2 separate regions of the Homo sapiens genome follow, and region 2 is linked to region 1. Evidence: promoter capture Hi-C in human tissues and cell types (Jung and others, 2019). All regions are on one chromosome and are shown on one strand. Each heading gives the region's core, a stretch centred on a gene start or on the middle of the fragment in contact. The rest is flanking DNA. Distances are from core to core; before and after follow the strand shown.

The links. Contacts are between HindIII fragments. The study calls those that stand out against the background at their distance.
Region 2: a fragment that was not itself captured here is called in contact with the fragment with the promoter of FOXK2 in region 1 in 1 of the 25 tissues and cell types used here (dorsolateral prefrontal cortex).

What each region holds. Positions count from the first base shown.
Region 1 is chr17:82,516,394-82,521,812 of GRCh38, reverse strand. It overlaps FOXK2 (forkhead box K2), which reads right to left and starts at 2,081. Exons shown (of 9, transcript NM_004514.4): 1 at 1,506-2,081. The coding sequence starts at 1,924. RefSeq lists silencers at 1,242-1,291, 1,372-1,551, 2,002-2,661. The HindIII fragment of the contact is 19,651 bases long and covers 1-5,419 here.
Region 2 is chr17:82,818,186-82,823,604 of GRCh38, reverse strand. The region is part of intron 13 of TBCD (tubulin folding cofactor D); the gene reads right to left. Among named protein-coding and RNA genes, the nearest start is that of ZNF750, 19 kb to the left of the region's middle. The HindIII fragment of the contact is 3,186 bases long and covers 453-3,638 here.

The DNA.
Region 1 (5,419 bases), core at 832-3,331:
GCCCGCCACCGCGCCCGGCTAATTTTTTTTTTTTTTTTGTATTTTTAGTAGAGACGGGTTTCACCGTGTTAGCCAGAATGGTCTCGACCTCCTGACCTCGTGATCCACCCGCCTCGGCCTCCCAAAGTGCTGGGATTACAGGCGTGAGCCACCGCGCCCGGCCTGAAAATAACATTCTTTAAAATGCTACTACCAAAGTTTAAGGAATATGCTGGTGCACCTTTCCATGCTAAGAAACAGAACAGCGCATGCACACACACACAACACGCAAGTCAAGAAGAAAAGCAACAGCTCTTACCAGCATCTCCAACAACCGAAAGCGTTAAAAATTCCAATTTGTAGGCCGGGCGCGGTGGCTCACGCCTGTAATCCCAGCACTTTGGGAGGCCGAGGCGGGTGGATCACGAGGTCAGGAGTTCAATACCAGCCTGGCCAAGATGGTGAAACCCCGTCTCTACTAAAAATACAAAAAATTAGCCGGGCGCGGTGGCAGGCGCCTGTAATCCCAGCTACTCGGGAGGCTGGGGCAGGAGAACCACTTGAACTCAAAGGGCGGAGATTGCAGTGAGCCAAGATCGCGCCACTACACTCCAGCCTGAGCGACAAAGTGAGCCTCCGTCTCAAAAAACAAAAAACAAAAAAATTCCAGTTTGTGTGGACAAAGGCTGTACTTGCAATGATCTAGAAGTGAGCCCCTGAGGAATAATTAGCATTTCCTAGACAGCAAGTTTGTGTTTCAAGCAGAGTAAACGATAACTTCATAAAACCACAGGACCAAGCTAAATTGTTTTGTAGCAGGATAGGCAGTTCCCTATCAGGCTGACTTAACACTCTACATGACCTTGTAATAATTCCTAATCAACTGTCTTTTTGTAGAAGTTATGCGAAAAGCATCTAGTTTTCCCTAAATTTTAAGGTTCAGAGCACAGATTGAAAATCCATCATGCTTGAAGCGTCTTCCAATTTGGCCTACTGAAAACACGGCAGGGAAAAAGGAGTCCTTCCTGCTTAAAACACCGCACTCTTGAAACAGCTCACTACTGAAAACGACTGAACAACAACAACAACAAAAGACAACAGACAACCCTTCATCGGTTAAGAGACATAGATTTTAGTTCGGGGCAGTTCCTCCCACCGCACACCGTTTTCACATTTCTGTTCAGCGCGACCTCGCTGCAGAATAGAAACAGCACACGTGAACTCCCCGCACGCACAGAACCCAGAAACCTTGACCCGCGCGCGCAGCCGCCCGCAGCCCCGGCTCCAGGAAGGGGGAAAGACGGGGGGCTGCACCTGCCAGGAAGGGGACCGGGAGGACGGGGGTCGGGGCCAGGGGCTGTCGAGGGTTGGGATCCAGCCGGGGCCTGGGTCCCGCTGGTGGTCCCGGCTGTGGGAGAGTCGGGCCCCCGCTCGTGGGTGGTCCCGGGCCTGGGCGCGTGTCCCGTCCCGTCCTGCCAGGCGCTGCAGGCCGCAGACCCCGCCCGCCCCGCCCCGAGGCCACTCACACGCGCGGCAGCTGCAGCGGCGGCGCCCCGCGCCTCTGGAACACGCCGTCCACGAATACCCCGTTCTTGCCCAAGCAGCGCAGGTAGAAGTCGCCGCCGGCGTCGGGCCTGGGCTGCGCGGGCGGCAGCTCCGGAGCGGCCCCGCCATGGCCGCCGCCGCCCGGGGGCGTGAAGATCTCGAGGTGGCGCCGGGAGATGAAGCTCGAGTGGCCCATGCTCACGTCCACCGAGCCCTGCGACGAGTTGCGGCCGATGGTCACCGAGCGCTTCTTCATCAGATACTCGAACTCGCGGCCCTCCAGGCGCGCCACGGCCCAGCCGCCCGGCGGGGACCCGCCGCCCCCGGCCCCGCCGCCCCCGGCCCCGCCGCCCGCGGGTGGCGTGCCCGCGCCCGAGAGCGCCGCCGCGGCCGCCGCCATGGGCCTGCGTGAGGGCCCCCGGGCCGCTCCGCGCGGGCGCCGGTGGCGCGGGCCGAGGCCCAGGCCGCGCGGGTCGTCGGCCGCCGCGCACCGGAGCTGAGGGAGGGGGCCGAGCGGAGGCCGCCGGCCGGCGAGCGAGCGAGCGGCGGCGAGGGGCGGGAGCACGCGCGGCCGCGCCACCGAGCCGGCACGCCGGGCCCGCCCCTCGCTGACGGACGGTTACGCCGGCCAATGGGGGCGGCGTACGGCAGTGGGGCTACCGAAGCAGGCCAATGGCAAGACACGTCGCACCAAGCTGCCGGCACGTCCGGCGGCGACGCCCGACGCAGTCCCGACTCCGGGCGCCGCGGAAAACCCGGGGCGGACAGTCGGCAGCCCGCGCGGGATCGGGGCTGGCGCGGGGTTGGCGCGGGCGCGGGAGCTCGGGGGTCTGAGCCCGGCCTGGCAGCGCCTTAGGCGCGGCGGGCGGGACCAGGCCCAAGGTCACAGCGGGCGCCAGGCACGCAGCGGCCCCCAACCCGGCGTGGACGCCGGGGTGCGGATAGGCGGCGGCCCGCGAGCCCAGGCCCGGCCGCCGAGCGGCCTTTTCCCCGCGAGGTGCGGGAATATCGCGGAGGGGCCGCGTGCCGCGTGGCCTCAGACCCAGGGGACCCGGTGACACGTTCGTTTTTAACCAGCAGCTCCAGGACTGGATGTCGTTATCTTTCCTGGCTAGCGAGTCATGTCATTGTGTCAAAACTGTCCTGCAAAATACGCAGAAGTTCTGAATCACATTTACTTAACTGTCGTCAGCACACAGTTTAAAAATATACACGAGGCCGGGCGCGGTGGCTCACGCCTGTAAGCCCAGCACTTTGGGAGGCCGAGGCGAGCGGATCACCTGAGGTCAGGAGTTCGAGACCAGCCTAGCCAACATGGTGAAATCCCAGCTCTACTAAAAATACAAAAAAAAAAAAAAAAATAGCCGGGTGTGGTGGTGCACACCTGTAGTCCTAGCTACTCAGGAGGCTGAGGCAGGAGAATTGCTTAAACCTGGGAGGCGGAGGCAGGAGAATTGCTTCAACCTGGGAGGTGGAGGTTGCAGTAAGCCGAGATCGCGTCACTGCACTTCAGTCTGGGCAACAAGAGTGAAACTACGTCTCATATGTATATATATGAACTATATATATGTGAACTATATATATATATATGAACTATATATATATGAACTATATATATATGAACTATATATATGAACTATATACATATATGAACTATATATATATGAACTATATATATATGAACTCTCATGAACGAATAGTTAATATCTTAACCAATCTGATACTAAGTTTTTAAAAAAAGAATTTCGCCACCGTTTAAAAAATTACAAGATCCCATCTAAATCAAGATGATCAATAGTCCAGATGTTCACTAATCAATGAAACTCCTAACATTAAAAAGAAAAAATCCTGTGGCCGGGCGCGGTGGCTCACACCTGTAATCCCAGTGCTTTGGGAAGCCGAGGCGGGTGGATCACAAGGTCAGGAGTTCAAGACCAGCCTGCCCAACATAGTAAAAGCCCGTCTCTACTAAAAATACAAAAATTAGCCAGGCATGGTGGGGCGTGCCTGCAGTCCCAGCTACTTGGGAGGCTGAGGCAGTAGAATCGCTCGAACCTGGGAGGCGGAGGTTGTGGTGAGCAGACATCACGCCACTGCCCTCCAGCCTGGGTGACAGAGGAGACTCCGTCTCAAAAAAAAAAAAAAAAAAAAAAATTGGGAAAAGAAAGAAAAAATCCTGTAAATGTATCTCACGGGTACTTAACCAGTTGTGGAGACGTTCAAGGTTCAGGATCATGAAAAGTCTACAACCTCTTAAACAGGAAGAATTCCGTGGGAAGTCAGTGTCAGCCCTAGAAACCATGGCTTGGGCTCCAAGCGCGCATCTTCGCAAAACTGAAATAGCAACAAATGGTACCAATTTAGTCTCTGCTGGGGAGGGACTGCCCCCTGAATTGTCTCACTTCTTTCAGCATGGTGGTTCCTGCAGGGTGTGTGAGGAGAAGATCCTATTATAGCCTATATATACAGGTTATAGCAAACACCCCAGGGTTCCTCTATTTGCTGCTTGTTAAATAGCAAAGAACAATTAGAAGAGAGAAATGATATAATTTAGGTACAGAGGCCTGGCACGGTGGCTCATGACTGAATCCCAACACTTTGGGAGGCCGAGGTGGGTGGATCACTTGAGGTTAGAAGTTGGAGACCAGCCTGGCCAACATGGTGAATCCACATATCTACTAAAAATACAAATATTAGCTGGGTGTGGTGGCACGTGCCTATAATCCCAGCTACTTGAGAGGCTGAGGCAGGAGAATCGCTTAAACGCGGGAGGCGGAAATTGCAGTAAGCAAGCGGAGATTGCACCACTGCATTCCAGCCTGGGTGACAAAGCCAGACTCTGTCTCGAAAATAATCATCATCATCATAATGTAGGTACAAAAGGAGTTTAGTGTGAGTAGAAAGACTTGAGACTGGACTTAAACGGAGCAGGATAAAGTGGAGATCCTGAACAGGAACCACCAACTGGGGGCCCCAGGCAGGAGACATCAGGGTCAGTTCATGCATTTTTATTCCTTCAATGTGTAAAAACTTTTTCTAAAAGAAATGGAAATTAATGTGTCCCTCTGAATGTAACATTTACATGTCTTTTTTTTTTTTTTTTTTTTTTTTGAGTGGAGTTTTGCCCTTGTTGCCCAGGCTGGAGTGCAATGGTGCGATCTTGGCTCACTGCAACCTCCACCTCCCAGGTTCAAGTGATTCTCCTGCCTCAGCCTCCCAAGTAGCTGGGATTACAGGTGCTCACCACCACGCCTGGCTAATTTTGTATTTTTAGTAGACGAGGTTTCACCCTGTTGGCCAGGATTGTCTCGATCTATTGACCTCGTGATCCACTTGCCTGGGCCTCCCAAAGTGCTGGGATTACAGGCGTGAGCCACCATGCCCGACCTACATTTACATGTCTTAATTGCCATATATGTGTTTGTAATTATAGTACAAATTCCTACAGGTGCAAAGTGTTCTGGCAGGATTTCCTAGACAGAAAAAATTGTTTCATTAAATATTCACTTATATATTAGAGGAATTTTTTTTTCTTTTCCTTTTTTTTTTTTTTTTGAGACAGTCTCACCCTGTTGCCCAGGCTGGAGTGCGGTGGCCCAATCTCTACTCACTGTAACCTCCGCCTCCTGGGTTCAAGCGATTCTCCTGCCTCAGCCTCCCGAGTAGCTGGGATTACAGGCGTGTGCCACCACACCCAGCTAATTTTTATATTTTTAGTAGAGACGGGTTTTCACCATATTGGCCAGGCTGGTCTCGAACTCCTGACCTCCAGTGATCCGCCCGCCTTGGCCTCCCAAAGTGCCAGGATTACAGGTGTAAGCCACCGTGCCCGGCCATATTAGAGGGATTTTAGGGGACATTGAGATGACTATGGAAATGATAAATAGGAAGTGTA
Region 2 (5,419 bases), core at 796-3,295, 300 kb before region 1:
GCCCACTGCCGTCTGCCCCCACCAGTGTTAACGTTCAGCCAAAATGCCACGTTCTACAGGGAGGGAGGGAGGGAGAGCAGGGCGGAGTGCAACACGAAACACACACGTTCACACAAGGAAAAAAACACCATTAACACAAAAAAAGAACAATCGGTCCACGTACAAAGTCAAAGATGTCTCATGCTTTGCATTTTCCTGAAAACCTGAAAGCTTAAAAGCCTACCAAGATTAAACAAGCCAACAAAAACAGGCGGGGAACTGGACACTGGGGCCATGTCAGGACGTGCTCAGACCCAACCTCTCCCAGGGCCCCTTGATCACCTGGGAACTGAGGTACACAGGCCTGCAGGGGGCAGCAGGGTCAGGCCAGGCCACAGCCAGGGCTGGACAGACAGCAGGGCCCCCCACAAGAGCCTGAGCCAGCCTCGGCACTGAGCCCCAACGGCTCTACCAGGGAGGGAATGCCCTGTCCCTAGACCTCAGCTGGAGCTGCTCTCCTGGAATTTACCATCCACCTCAGTGCTCCAGAGCCTGTGAGGAAACTCTGGTCCTCCACCCCTTCCCCCTCTCAGAATCGGACTCCTCTCCTATAAAATATCCCTTCTGAAGGAGCCTCTGCGGGTTTCCATGTCGGCTGCTTCCTCCCCTTTTCTCCACCTCCCCATGCCAGTGAGCCTGGGAACCCGGTTCAAGCTTTTCCACCCATTCACCTTCCTCATCTCTCACTCCCTCCTGTGTGAACTCATCAATCCATAACTTTGTAGACCATTACTATGTGGAAGGCTCCAACATGTCACTCACTGACCTTACTATCTCACTCTCTTTCACTGAATAGAACAGCAAAGTCGTTGAGTTCAGAATCCTACATGCAGCGTATTTCCTTTTCTCTTTCTTCACAGCTCTGGTCTCACTCCGAACACTGTGGTGGCTCCCGAATGGCCTCACTCTCCCTCGCTCTTCCTTTCCACTGCACCCCCGTGTATTCCCCAGTATCTGACTTTATGTTGAATAATTTCCAAACCCCTCACTGTGTTCCTGAAGCCCCTCTAGGATCTGGCCCCCAGGCGCTTTTCTGTGCCCACTCTTCTGCTCTTTCCGCTGTCCCAGCTCGTGCGAGCCTTCGTTCCTCTTTGAGATGCTGCGGTCAGGAGTCCATCCTGCTCGGCTCCTTCACGGTAGAAGCTCTCAGCGTAAATGTCGCCCCAGGAGGTCTTCCCCAAGTCTTATTCAAGTCACTGGTTGGCCCCATCACTGAGGATCTCACCGCCCTTTTGTATTTTCTTAACGACTTTATCCATTCTCTGAAATTGCTCCCTTCGTTTCCTTGTTTAATGTCTGAATCTCCCTCCAAACCCTGTCCCCTTCACCGTCACAGAAACGCTGTGTCCTCACCTCAACTGCCAAGAGCAGTGGGCGCCAATCGCACTTGTCATAGGAAGTACGTGCAGAGTTTTCGTCATCCAGAGAGAAAAACATGACAGTTTCTTTTGGAAGCCAGAAAACACAGTCCACAGGTGGGAATTAATCTACTGAATGGTGCTTTTAACAAGACCCCAAGGCAGCTGCAGCAACATCGTCGTAAGACGCTGCTTGTACGTCTTCGATGAACACTGAGAGCGTGTGCTCCAATGCAACTCTGTACATTTTTCAAAATTTATAACATTTATATAAACTTATAAAAATTTAATGTTTATTAAAATTTTTTCGAAATTTATAAAATGTATTATACATTTAAAAATTTTCTCAAAACATCACCTTAGATAAGAGTTAGGCAGTCTGTATTTCCGACATGCAGGGCTTACTACCTGATGCAGGTTCACAGGGACCTTGAGCCTCCTAGCAGTAAAACAAACATGCTCTCCAACCTTCAGAAAGTTGCAGGAAGGTTAGAATGGGCTTCTCTGTGGCTTTGGGACACCAGACCATTACACTTTATAAGACATGGGGTGACAGACTGCACCTTCTGGGGGAAGGGGTAGGCCTCCTTGAGAGGGGGCAGTGAAGGACCCCAGCCTGAAGATTGCATAGGGAGCTTCCTAAGTTTGAGGGAAGGCAGGAGAAAAGCTTTGTAGATGCTAATTTAACAGAGACCTGCTTTAGCCACACAGTGGGTATAAACAGACCTATGTCACCAACACAGCCCTCAAATCTGTTATTTGGGAAACACATATGCAAAGATTTCTTCCTTTTTAGGCTTTAAAGCAAAGGTTAAGTGCTGGGAAGCAAGTGTGAGCCACTGTGCTCAGTCTTAGACAAAAATATGCTCACAGATCTCAAGAAAACTGTGGACAAAGAACTAAAGGAGACCAAAAGAACAACATTTAAACTAACATGGAATGTTGATAAAGAGACAGAAATTATAAAAACAGGCTGGGCACAGCAGCTCACTCCTATAATCCCAAGGCAGGCCAAGGCAGGAAGATCACTTGAGTCCAAGAATTTGAAAGCAGTCTGGACAATAAAGTGAGATCCTGTTTCTACAATTTTTTTTTCCAGTGCAGCAGGCCTGTGGTCTCAGCTACTCAGGAGGCTGAGGCGGGAGAGCTGCTTGGGCCTGGGAGGTTGAGGCTGCAGTAAGCCGTGATACCACCACTGCACTCCAGCCTGGGCGACAGAGCAAGACCCTGTCTCAAAAAGAAATTATTAAAAGAGAAACTAAAGAGAAATTCTGGAACTGAGGACTCAACAGCTGAAATGAGTGCAGAACCTAAGAGACTCATAGGGCACCATCAAGCTTACCAACATGTATATTAACACAACAAGAGGACTCAACAGCTGAAATGAGCACAGAACCTAAGAGACTCATAGGGCACCATCAAGCTTACCAACATGTGTATTAACATAACAAGAGGACTCAAGAGCTGAAATGAGGGCAGAACCTAAGAAACTCATAGGGCACCATCAAGCGTACCAACATGTGTATTAACATAACAAGAAGACTCAAGAGCTGAAATGAGTGCAAAACCTAAGAGACTCATAGGGTACCACCAAGAGTACCAACATGTGTATTAACATAACAAGAGTCCCACAAGGAGAGGAGAGGGGCAGCAAAAATACCTGAAGAAACAATGACTGAAAACTACCCGAGTTTGATGAAAGACATGAATCTACACATCCAAGCTCAGAAAAACACCAAGTGCTAGTTATTATTACCCAAATCAATATGCACAATTCTCAATCAATAAGGATAGCAAGGGAAATAGGGTTCATACAAAATGTCCAAAGAGATCAGAACACTTGACATTTTTCAAAAAGCAAAATACTGATGAAAACCACAAAATGCATAATAAGGAGCACATGTATACATTTTATCAAAATAGTACAGTTGGCTGGGCGCAGTGCCTCACGCCTGTAATCCCAGCACTTTGGGAAGCCAAGGCAGGCAGATCACTTGAGGTCAGGAGTTCGAGACCAGCCTGGCCAACATGGAGAAATCTGGTCTCTACTAAAAATAAAAAAATTGGCTGGGCATGGTGGCGGGCGCCTGACTCCCAGCTACTCGGGAGGCTGAGTCATGAGAATCACTTGAACCTGGGAGATGGAGCTGGCAGTGAGCCAAGAGGGCGCCACTGCACTCCAGCCTGGGCAACAGAGCAAGACTCTGTCTCAAAAAAAGAAAAAAAAAAAAAAGGTAAACTTAAACCAATACATCCCCCCACCTGTGCTTCTTGTATCCAACAAAGGAAACCGTAAGGGTTCACAAACATTGTAGGAGCTTACTCATGGTGAGGAGTGCCCACCTCCTCCTGCCACAACAACAGAGGTGTTCAAAGAGGAGCCACAAAAAAGGTGAAAGGACCTACGCCAGGACCACTCAAGAAAAGTCCTGGAATTTGAATCACCTAAAATAAAGACCAAGTAGCCCTTTAACAGTAGTCCTCAAACAGAGGTGATGATGCAAAGAGAAAAAGAACATGGCCCACTGTCCACAGGCCGAGGCAGGAGGATCGCGTGAGTGCAGCACTGCGATCATGGCTCACTGCAGCCTCAACCTCCTGGACTCAAGCAATTCTCCCACCTCAACCTCCTGAGTAGCTGGGACTGCACCCAACTACCTTTTTAAAACAATTTTTGTAGAAACAGGATCTCATTTTGTTGCGCAGGCTACTTTCGAATTTCTTTAAAAAATTAGCTGGGCGTGGTGGTGTGCACAGAGTCAGAGACCAAGAAATAGGCTTACAGCACAACAGATGGAGATTCTGTGTGTGTGTGCACTGTATGTGTGGAGAGGAATCAGCAGGATTCCCTAAAAAGTAACCCAAAGAAAATGCGATGCTTTTTTCCTGAGTCCAGCAGGCAGAGTCCCCCTATTCAGAGGACTAAGGGCAGAAAGACCCAGGGTGCCTTCCAGGCAAACATCGCATCACTGCCTGCCCACCTGACTTCCCTAGTTTTACTTCTTCCTCCTTTAGCATGCACCAATGAAGCTCCACATTTCCTCTAAGACAAACAAAAGCTTTAGTCATCAAACATGCTCATCTATATTGTGTCTTTCTACGACATTTATTTGCCAAGCATTTGTTTTCGCGCTTTTTTTTCTTTTTTTTGAGACAGGATCTTGCTCTGTCACCCAGGCTGGAGTGCAGTGGTGCGATCTCGGTTCACTGCAACCTCTGCCTCCTGGGTTCACGCGATTCTTCTGCCTCAGCCTCCCGAGTAGCTGGGATTACAGACATGCACCACCACATCCTTGTATTTTTAGCAGAGACGGGGTTTCACCATGTTGGCCAGGCTGGTCTCGAACTCCTGGCCTCAGGTGATCCCCCCGCCTTGGCCTCCCAAAGTGCTGGGATTATAGGCATGAGCCGCCGTGCCCAGCCTGTTTTCACTTTTCAAACCAAACTGACAGAGAACCACAGTAACTCTCCAAGGAGACAAGGAGGTGCAGGGACAGCTCAGCCGTGTGACATGGAGGAGGCCGAAGGGCTGAGCATGAGCTGTGACACCAGAAAGACTTCCTGGCTCCCACAGCTGCAGTGTTTGTGTGTGTGTGTTTGTTTGTTCAGAGAGGGTGTCTCACTATGATGTCCAGGCTGGTATCAAATTCCTAGGCTCAAGTGATCCTCCTGCCTTGGCCTCCCAAGAGGCTAGGATTAAAGGCACCGCCACCACACGTGGCTCCCAACTATAGCTTTATATAAACAAGACGGCTCTCAGAGGAATGGTGTGAGGTCTAAAACAAAAACATAAAAAGCATGCTGCAAATGCTCATCAAATGTCAGCCCTGTCACCTCCTGAGTCAGCCCCAAGATGGGATCTCTTTCACCCCTGCCTGAAAGAACCCTTGCCCTGTGCAGAGACAGCACAGCTTCTCCATGTCCCACCAGGAACAGAATGGGGGCTGCAAAGAGGGTTCAGCTCACATGGAGGGCACCGCCAGGCAGAAGGGGCCAACCAACCATGCGAAGGTCATGGGCCA